Linked DNA regions of Homo sapiens: all the other regions are linked to region 2. Evidence: promoter capture Hi-C in human tissues and cell types (Jung and others, 2019). All regions are on one chromosome and are shown on one strand. Each heading gives the region's core, a stretch centred on a gene start or on the middle of the fragment in contact. The rest is flanking DNA. Distances are from core to core; before and after follow the strand shown. Region 1 overlaps MVB12B (multivesicular body subunit 12B). Region 2 holds the start of GAPVD1 (GTPase activating protein and VPS9 domains 1). Region 3 has its middle 7.2 kb from the start of MVB12B.

The links. Contacts are between HindIII fragments. The study calls those that stand out against the background at their distance.
Region 1: a fragment that was not itself captured here is called in contact with the fragment with the promoter of GAPVD1 in region 2 in 1 of the 25 tissues and cell types used here (dorsolateral prefrontal cortex).
Region 3: a contact is called between a fragment that was not itself captured here and the fragment with the promoter of GAPVD1 in region 2, in 2 of the 25 tissues and cell types used here (dorsolateral prefrontal cortex and mesenchymal stem cells).

Annotation. Positions count from the first base shown.
Region 1 is chr9:126,468,012-126,471,025 of GRCh38, forward strand. All of the region lies in intron 7 of MVB12B (multivesicular body subunit 12B), which reads left to right. Among named protein-coding and RNA genes, the nearest start is that of NRON, 59 kb to the left of the region's middle. The HindIII fragment of the contact is 4,519 bases long and covers 1-3,014 here.
Region 2 is chr9:125,260,544-125,263,245 of GRCh38, forward strand. GAPVD1 (GTPase activating protein and VPS9 domains 1) reads left to right here and starts at 1,283. Exons shown (of 28, transcript NM_001282680.3): 1 at 1,283-1,416. RefSeq lists silencers at 1,180-1,361, 1,300-1,429. The HindIII fragment of the contact is 6,614 bases long and covers 1-2,702 here.
Region 3 is chr9:126,318,166-126,321,038 of GRCh38, forward strand. No RefSeq gene overlaps it. Among named protein-coding and RNA genes, the nearest start is that of MVB12B, 7.2 kb to the right of the region's middle. The HindIII fragment of the contact is 4,487 bases long and covers 1-2,873 here.

The sequences.
Region 1 (3,014 bases), core at 414-2,913, 1.2 Mb after region 2:
ACACAGATGTGCGCTTATGTATCTGTCTACAACTACATATTAAAACCGACTTTATAATGATACATCTGATTTTGATCCAATATCACAGAGTACATTCTGATCTTCCCATTGTTTTTGCCAGCTTGGAACGTTAACATTCCTCAGCTCTGTCCCAGGTCTGCCTCTCTCACCATGTTCCAGAATATTTCATCTTCTCTCATGGTCTCAATTATCACCATGCTGGTTACTTCCAAACTCACCCTCACATCCCCGCCCGCCAGGCCTCATTTCTGGATCTCCACCCGGCAGCCCTCACACACCCATCTCACATTCTCGGTCATAATGTTCTAACCAGTGTTGACCAGTTGCCTCCCCTTGGCTGTGGCCCAAGCCCCTCAAACCAGACACATGCTCAGCGGGACCCACGAGTTCATCTCTGCTGCTTTTCCGCTGGCCCCCACGCCCCGTCAGTACCTGGCATTTCATTCTCCCAGCTCTTTAGGCCAGGATCCTGGGGTCACCCTTGATTCCGCCTTGCCCCTCTGCAGCCAGTGGCCAGGTCTCTTGATTCTTCCATCTAAATGTCCCTTGGCCTTCCCCAGCCACTCCATTCTTACTGCCACTGCCCTCATCCGGGCCACCAGCGTCCCTCGCCTGGTTCAGTGTCAGAACTTCCTCCCTGGTGTTCCTGCTCCAGCCTCACTCCCTGTAATTCATTCTCCTCTCCATAGCCAGGGAGACGCTGTTAAAACCTAAATCTCCCCATCTCTCTCTCCAGCTCAAAGACCCTTTGGTGGCTCCCCAGGGACCTCATGATGTCCTTCAGTCTGCTGAGAATGGCCATCAGGACTCCTGGCAGGCTGGTTCTTGGTTGTCTCTGGACCCTACTTCTATGCAACAGTTAAAAAGGCTGAGACACAGAGCTCTAAGAATTGATGTGGAAACACAGTCAATTGAAAAAAAGTAAATTGCAAAACAGTTACTTATGCTGTGATGCTATTTTTATTAAAAACACGAATACATACAAAACAAAATTCTGGCCAGCTGTAGTGGCTCATGCCTGTAATCCCAGCTACTTGGGAGGCTGAGGCAGGAAGACCCCTTGAGCCCAGGATTTCGGGGCTACACACAGCTATGATGGCACCACTGCACTTCAGCCTGGGTGATAGAGCAAAAGTCCATGTCTAAAAAATAAAAAAATAATATTCTGTCCTTTTTCTATACATGCCAACACGCAGGTGAATGCATGGGAGACAGGCCGGCAGGACCCCAGGCACTGTGTACAGACCACTACCAAGGCTTGCTCTGAGAAGGGTCCAGGGATCAGCGGCTCCGGATTCAAGGGGTGCTTTGACTTAGCTATCCTATTGGAATGGTTTCCTTAGAAAATATATTCATGTGCTGAAGTGTTAAAGAGTACAACTTAAAAATATAGATGGGTTGGTTTTGAGAAGGTAAAAAGAGCCCTGGCAGAGAAAGTGCGTCTTCCAAGCCTGAGGTTCCCTGCTCCACAACCGAGGGGTGTATGTGATGCTCAGCCTGGGGGACAGGCGTGCTCCGTAGTCACAGGCCATGCCTGTCAGGCCCTTGCTGTCAGTTACCCCCCGTGGCTGCAGATCACACTGCCTGTTTTAGAGCATGCCTTCTTCCAGAGGATGTGGTCGCTACTAGTGGTAACGTATCTGCATTGGACCTTGGGTCTGCTTTTTGTTCTGCATCTACAAAGCTCCTTTGGTCTCGAGCTCACTGAGGAGTTTCTGCGTTTGTCGCTGTGGGCAGCAGGTGTGTGCACTGACCCAGTGGCCCCTCAGCCACCAGGGTACCTTTGAACTCATGTGGAAAAGTATCACTGAGTTGCGTTTTATCTTTACCTTGAGCAAAATGCAGTTGATCCCTGCCCCAAGCCATTAAATATTTATAACGTTAAAAAAATGTTTCTTTAATGTCTCTGAGCCTCTCTTTTCTAAACTGTGGAAGAAAGACAATAACAATACCTGGACTGCTATGATGTTTAAATGAGATAAAAACATAAGGCCCTAGGTACAAACTAGCTGCTCAGTAACTGTTAGCCACTGGTATTAGTATTAGTGAGTATTAGTGTTATTACTGCCGTACAGAGGAAAATACCCTTTCGCGGTAGACCCCTTTCTGCCTGCTTTCCCATAAAAACAGGAGTGCAGCCATATTAAATTACATAACCCAGGGGCTGTGAGTCCCAACCCAAAGACGTTTGGAGGGACAAAAGCAATGTTTGCTGAGGAGTAACTCATTGGGTCCCCCAGACCATGGCTCTCCGTGGTGTCTGCTATCTCTGGTGTTGCAAGTCAAGCTCGACTTGGAAGCAAGATCCAAGCTTCTGAGGCTCAGTGAGAATGTTCTTGTTGTGTGTCGAGTTTCTTGTGGGTGTGGACTGTGGGGCAGCTGCCTTCCCTCTGTGCTCCCATAGCTTTCAGAGAACTGCCCTGGACCTGCATGAGGTTGTGCAGCCCAGCACTGCACCCTGGACCCTGGAGGGAGGGACTGCCCTGAAGGAGGAGGTGGGGGGGCTGGTGGCCCTAGATTCCTCCCAGGGCACTAGGGATGCAGAGGGATGAAGCGAGCCCCTCAATTACAGTCTTCTGTGTAGAGATGGGGAGCCTAGGAGGAGTCAGTGCTCTGTGTGTGTGTGTGTGTGTGTGTGTGTGTGTAATCCAGATTGCTCATGCCAAATAGAACCTCTAAGAATGTTCGTTTGTGGTGTGAGGGCACCCTGGTCTGGGTGCCCAATGAGTGACTCCTTAGCAAACATTGCTTCCGTCCCACCAAACGTCTTTGGATTGGGTCTCACAGCCCATGGATTGTGTAATTTAATATGGCTGCACTTACGTTCTTATGTGAAAGCAGGTAGAAAAAGGTCAACCGTGAAAGGGTATTTCCCTCTGTACAGCAGTAATAACACTAACACTAATACGAATGGCTAACAGTTACTGAGCAGTTCGTTCGTACCTAGGGCTTTATGTTTTTATCTTGTTTGAATGTCATTGCAGTCCAGGTAT
Region 2 (2,702 bases), core at 33-2,532:
TGGGGAAATGATTATTACTTTTTTCCTTTTTTTGCCTGGAGACTCCCAGTATTGGAGGATATAATCATTGTTCTCAATTTTTTGAAGATCTGTCAAGTGGAAGACATTCTGTATTGCTCCAGGCAGCCTAACTACCAGCAATGGAAGGAAATAAAGGGAAACAGATTTCAGCTCAGCAGGAGGCAGAACTTTCTAACATTTAGAGCTGTCCAACAGTGGAGCAGGCTGCATTACTTGAGGGAGTGAGCTCCCTGAAATTTGAACTGTTGAACAGGAAGATGACCATCTGGCTGAATGTACAGGAGGGAATTCCTGCCTGGGCAACAGTTGCACTAGTGACCTTTAAGCAGGTATCTTCCAATTTTAAGGTTTCTAGACTGTTCAACTCAGCTAACTTGACCTCTGAATATATGAGTTATGGTGTTACAAAAATTATTAGACAGTTCATTTATTGACTTACCTAAAATAACTGCATGGTGAAGTTTATGATAAGCAAGATTTTAGAAACTGAGAAGTGGGAAGGCAGGTTTTACACTGAAAATCCAGATACCATCCAAACCAATTAATGGCACTTAGAACAAAAGGGAAGGGAGGGGCCGGCAGCGGTGGCTCACGCCTGTAATCCCAGCACTTTGGGAGGCCGAGGCGGGCGGATCACGAGGTCAGGAGATCGAGACCATCCTGGCTAACACGGTGAAACCTCGTCTCTACTAAAAATCAAAAAATTAGCCGGGCGTGGTGGCGGGCGCTTGTAGTTCCAGCTACTTGGGAGGCTGAGGCGGGAGAATGGCGTGAACCCGGGAGGCGGAGCTTGCAGTGAGCCGAGATTGAGCCACTGCACTCCAGCCTGGGCGACAGAGCCAGACTCCGTCTCGAAAAAAAAAAAAAAAGGGAAGGGAGGTTTGTAAGTAGTGTGTGCGTACGTGTGAGAGAGAAACAGAGAAGAGAGAGAGTCATTCATGCGAATAATGTGTCCTGGGCAACTGAGCGTTGTCACAGAAAGCATAAAACGCTCTACATTTTTGCTTTACACATACTTGCTCAGTCGGATTCTTCACGTCCAGCATTACTGCAGGCGGAAACCAGGGCCCAGGCCTGGTGAACAGCCTTCCGGAAGACGATTCCGGACCCGGACACCCACGACAGCCTCAGGGGGCAGCTGACCTAGGGCTGCCTAAGGCGGAAGTGGGAGCCCCTAGCCGCCCGGGCGGAACTACAGCTCCCAGAGGCCCCCGCGGCGCTGCGCACGCGCGCTGGCGTGGCGGCAGCGCCGCTGCAGGACGCAGGGAAGCCAACAGGCGAGTGGCGAAGGTGGCGGCAGCGGCGGCGGGGGCAGTCACCGGCTAGGGCGACGGCTCCGAGGCCGAGTGGCGGTCCGACAGAGTCCTCCGTGTCCTCCCCCGCATGACCCCCTTGGTGAGTACGCGTCCCGATTTAGTCCGCGGGCTGTGAGCGGCTCCCTGCCTCGCGGCCGGGTTGCTCCGGCCTAGGGCCGCAGCCTGTCTCTGACTGCCCGGCCGTCAGGTCCAACTGACCCCGGGGTCCTGGGCTCTTCCCGTCAGTGTCGGGCGAGGTGGGGGTCGGGGGACACTGGGTTAGACCCAGGGGAGAGATGTGGCGGCGCGCAGGAGCCAGGGCGGCCTGGGGCTGAGGAGAGGGAGAGACGCGTGGGGGATGGGATGGGAAGGGACAGGAGGACCGCGGGGCGGCCTCGGGTGGGGGCCAGAGACGAGAGGCCCGGCAGGTAGGGAACTGAGTATAGGAGGCGAGAACGAAATGGAATGTCTTCTGAGTGTCGCTGATAAAGATATCGTGCTGCAGGGAAGCTTGACAAGCTGGACACACGGGTCTGGGGGCAGCCCACCTAACACAGACACTCACTGTACTTGGCATCTTTCCACTTGCTGTCGGAGGTCTGAAAGTGAGGGAGCTGTTGGTTGTTTCCATCCCTTTTCTTTTAACTTCACCTTTTATTGACTGGCAAAATTGTAGTGAGTGCTGGCTAGGCAAACCACAGAAGTACACCCAGGGTTCTGTGTATAAATGTGCATAAAAACAGGGAGACATAGTGATAGGTTCAGATGAGAACTAGGTCAAAGGAGGAATCAGTGTTTTTATTTTTAAATTTATGACGAAAATCAGTTCTGAGCAGGACTTTGAACTAGAGAGGGGTTTTAAACTGGAGTTCATTGATGGATAGAATTAGAAGGGTCCTTTCACTAGAAGGAGGATAAAATGACATCATTATTTTTATTGACTGCTAACTGAAACTTATTATTTCCTTCAGTTACGAATGTGGACAACAAGCCAGAGTAGCATTAGCAGCGCCTATGACTTTGTGATCAATAAAAATTACGGATATTTTTGCATCATGTTTACAGTTGCAGATAGCTCAGAATATCATTTATGGTTAACACTTCTTTGAATTTCTGGTGTTACTAGACCCGCCGTTAGACATTGTTATTTAATGTGATAATAAGGCTGTACATATATTATGACCATATTAGTTTGTTGTTTTGCTAATATTTCCATATAATTGGTTTCCCTTGTAATCACATGTATTTAATTATGCACTTAAAAGAAATCTGAGAAAGGGACCATAGGCTTCACCAAACTGCCAATGAGGTCCGTGCACAAAAAGATTAAGAACTCCTGAAATAATTTGGGAGGCCGAGGCGGGCGGATCATTGAGGTCAAGAGAT
Region 3 (2,873 bases), core at 200-2,699, 1.1 Mb after region 2:
CCTGTTCTTTCTGCAGGAGCAGCTGTGTTCTTTAATGACCCTGTCCCTCTAAATGGCCTTGATCAGGCCAGAGTGGTCACCTGGTCATAGCTAGGCCCATTGGAATCTTTTCCCAGGATTTTTAAAGTGAATCTTAGACAGCCAATTTTTATTTAGTGGTAGAAGCAATAAGAGGATATAAAACTGTCAGCAGTCTGATTCTGCCATGTGGAAGAAGAAGGTCTGTAATGAGAGAATGAAGCTGAGATAAAGGAAGCTCTGGGTTTCTGGTGTCAGTTCTTCCTGAGTACACCTGCAGCCCTAACCTTCCTGAGGTTTGCCTGGCCCAGGGAAGTGGGCACATAGATGTGATGCGATCCTGCCCTCTGTCCCAGTTTATTGGGTCTGGGGTAGTTCTGACCTTTACTGGGCCTGTCAGATCATCTCTCTGAAAGTCTGGAATTGGAGCTTAGAGATGCCTTGTCACTGTCTGCAGGCCACTGGGACTGATGTGATATAGACTGTGGGCTGAGAACACCATCATGGCAGCAATTGTTAGACTGTGGACAGGGAGGAGAAGAAGAGAAAAGTCGTTGTTAGAAAGGGCAAAAAACAAAGGCAGACACAGGGAAAAGGGGAAACAGGAGGAAACATAGCCCTGGAAGAGGCCTGGAAATGTGCCTGCCGTACGAGACTGCTTCCGTGAGAGAATCCCAGTTTGTTCCATGAATTCTGTTTTATGCCTAACTGGGTTTGAGAGCATTTCTGTTACGGAAAACCAAATGATCACTGAACAACATCTGAATCTCCCTACAGCCTGTGAATATCTTGAGGGCACAACTGACTCTGCTCGTCTCTCTAAATCCAGAAGCTTGGCCTGGACTCCCAGTGAGAGAGTGAAGAAACAACCATTGTCCTGAGAATCAGGGCTCTATCCAACACAATGCGTTTCAGGACTCTGGAAATCCTGCTCCAGAGTTTTGTAGGCAGGTGCAGTGGCTCTCACCTGCAATCCCAGTGCTTTGGGAGGCTGACGGGGTAGGATTGCTTGAGGCCAGGAGCTCAAGACCAGCCTGGGTAACACGGCGAGATCTCTGCCTCTAAAAAAAAAAATCTAAAAATTAGCCAGGAGTTCAAGGCTGCAGTGAGCTAGGATTGCACCGCTGCACTCAGTCTGGGCAGCAGAGTGAGATCCTGTCTCAAAACAAAAACAAACAAAAAACAACAACGAAAACAAAACAAAACAAAAAAACACAAAAAAAGAGTTTTGTAGAGTGAAGTTCCAAGCATCGACTTTAGAGTCTAATACCTCTAACTCCTACTTTCCATGATATAACTTAGGAAAGCCACTTTATCTCTCTGAGCCCCAGTTTTTGTAGTTATAATATGGCAATCATACTCCCTGCTTTACAGGATCAGTGTTGGTTATTGAGTGAAATAGTTTAGGCAGAAGGACCTAGCCCAGTGCCTGACACAGAGGAAATACCCCGTGAATGGCAATGATCATGATTCCTAACAGTTGCAGATAAGGACCGACATTAATTCAAGAATTATTTGTTGAGTGCCTGCTAAGTCCTAGAGTGGTAAATAAAAGAGACAGGGCTCCTCAGGTGCCTGCCCCTGTGAAGCTTACAATCTAAAGAAAGGAAGTCGCTTTTGCTGAATGCTGTCTTTGTACCAGCTCTCTGCGGCACAAAGGCCCTCTCTATTAGGGAAGGTGTTGAAACAATCACAAGTTGGATCCGTTATTCTGTGGGGCCTCAGTGTCATAAAAGCAGGTCTGCATGTGTTTATGGCTTCTTCATTTCAACAGCACTGTTTGTGGGTATCCTCCGTTTATTTCTCACATCCATCCAGTCAAAGTCTTGTGAAAGTGAGCCTGCCACATTTACACACCTGTCCCACAAACATGCTAATCCCACCTGCCTGCTTTCTGCTCCTACCAGCAGGTCAAAAACTGTGCAGATCAGGGAAAAGTTCTGTTTAGCCAGCAAGACTCATAACTGAGGAGATTTTACCCTTACTCTTTCAAGGCAGAATCAATCCATTCTAGTTCCCGCAGATCAATACCAGAAAACAGCCCTAGGAGTAATGATGTATTTATTATCATAATTGAGAGAGCCCTTAAAGAGGGCCAAAAAGGAAGGAAGTGAGTGGTGGGGATCTGAGCTCCAGGAAGCTGCCCGAGTTGGCCCTGGACCTGTGCAGGTAAGGCCTGGTAAGCATGAAGGCCTGCTTTGCACGGCTCTCCACCCTTAACCCATCTCTTTCAGAACAGGTACTATTTGTGGCACTGAACACTTTCTGGGATCTTATCATGTATGAAATGCACTGACATTTTTTCCCCTGATTATAAAGGTCATATAGTTCATTATTAATTTTTTTAAAAACTTAATTGCCTTCTTCCTTGATAATGAAACAGTGATTTTTTTTTTTTTTTTTTTTTTTTTTGTATTGGCCTGGAAATACGGCCAGTCTCAGGAAGTGACTGCCATTGACAAAGCCAATTTCCCATCCTCCCTTGCAGTGAGGAGGGGCAATGTGACCCATTTCTAGCCAATGGTATCTAAGCAGGCCTGGTGGGGAGTTTCTGAGAAAGTTTTTGCTGCCAGGCCATGACATCTGAAGCTGGGGGAGTAATCCTGCACCCATGAGGCAATGACAGAAAAGACATCAAGCTGAAGATGTCAAAGAAGTGTGGATGGACATGTATTCTTAATGGCTTCATTCTTTCTTAACAAGAAGACTGAAGATGATTACTGGCCAGTAAAATAAACACCTACTGTTCAAGCTACTGTTGGTTGAATTTTCTGTTATTTGTATCCATATTCCTAAGTGATGCAAATATGCTAAAATAAAAAATGATAGTCTCTGTGTAAACCATTCCCAAGACG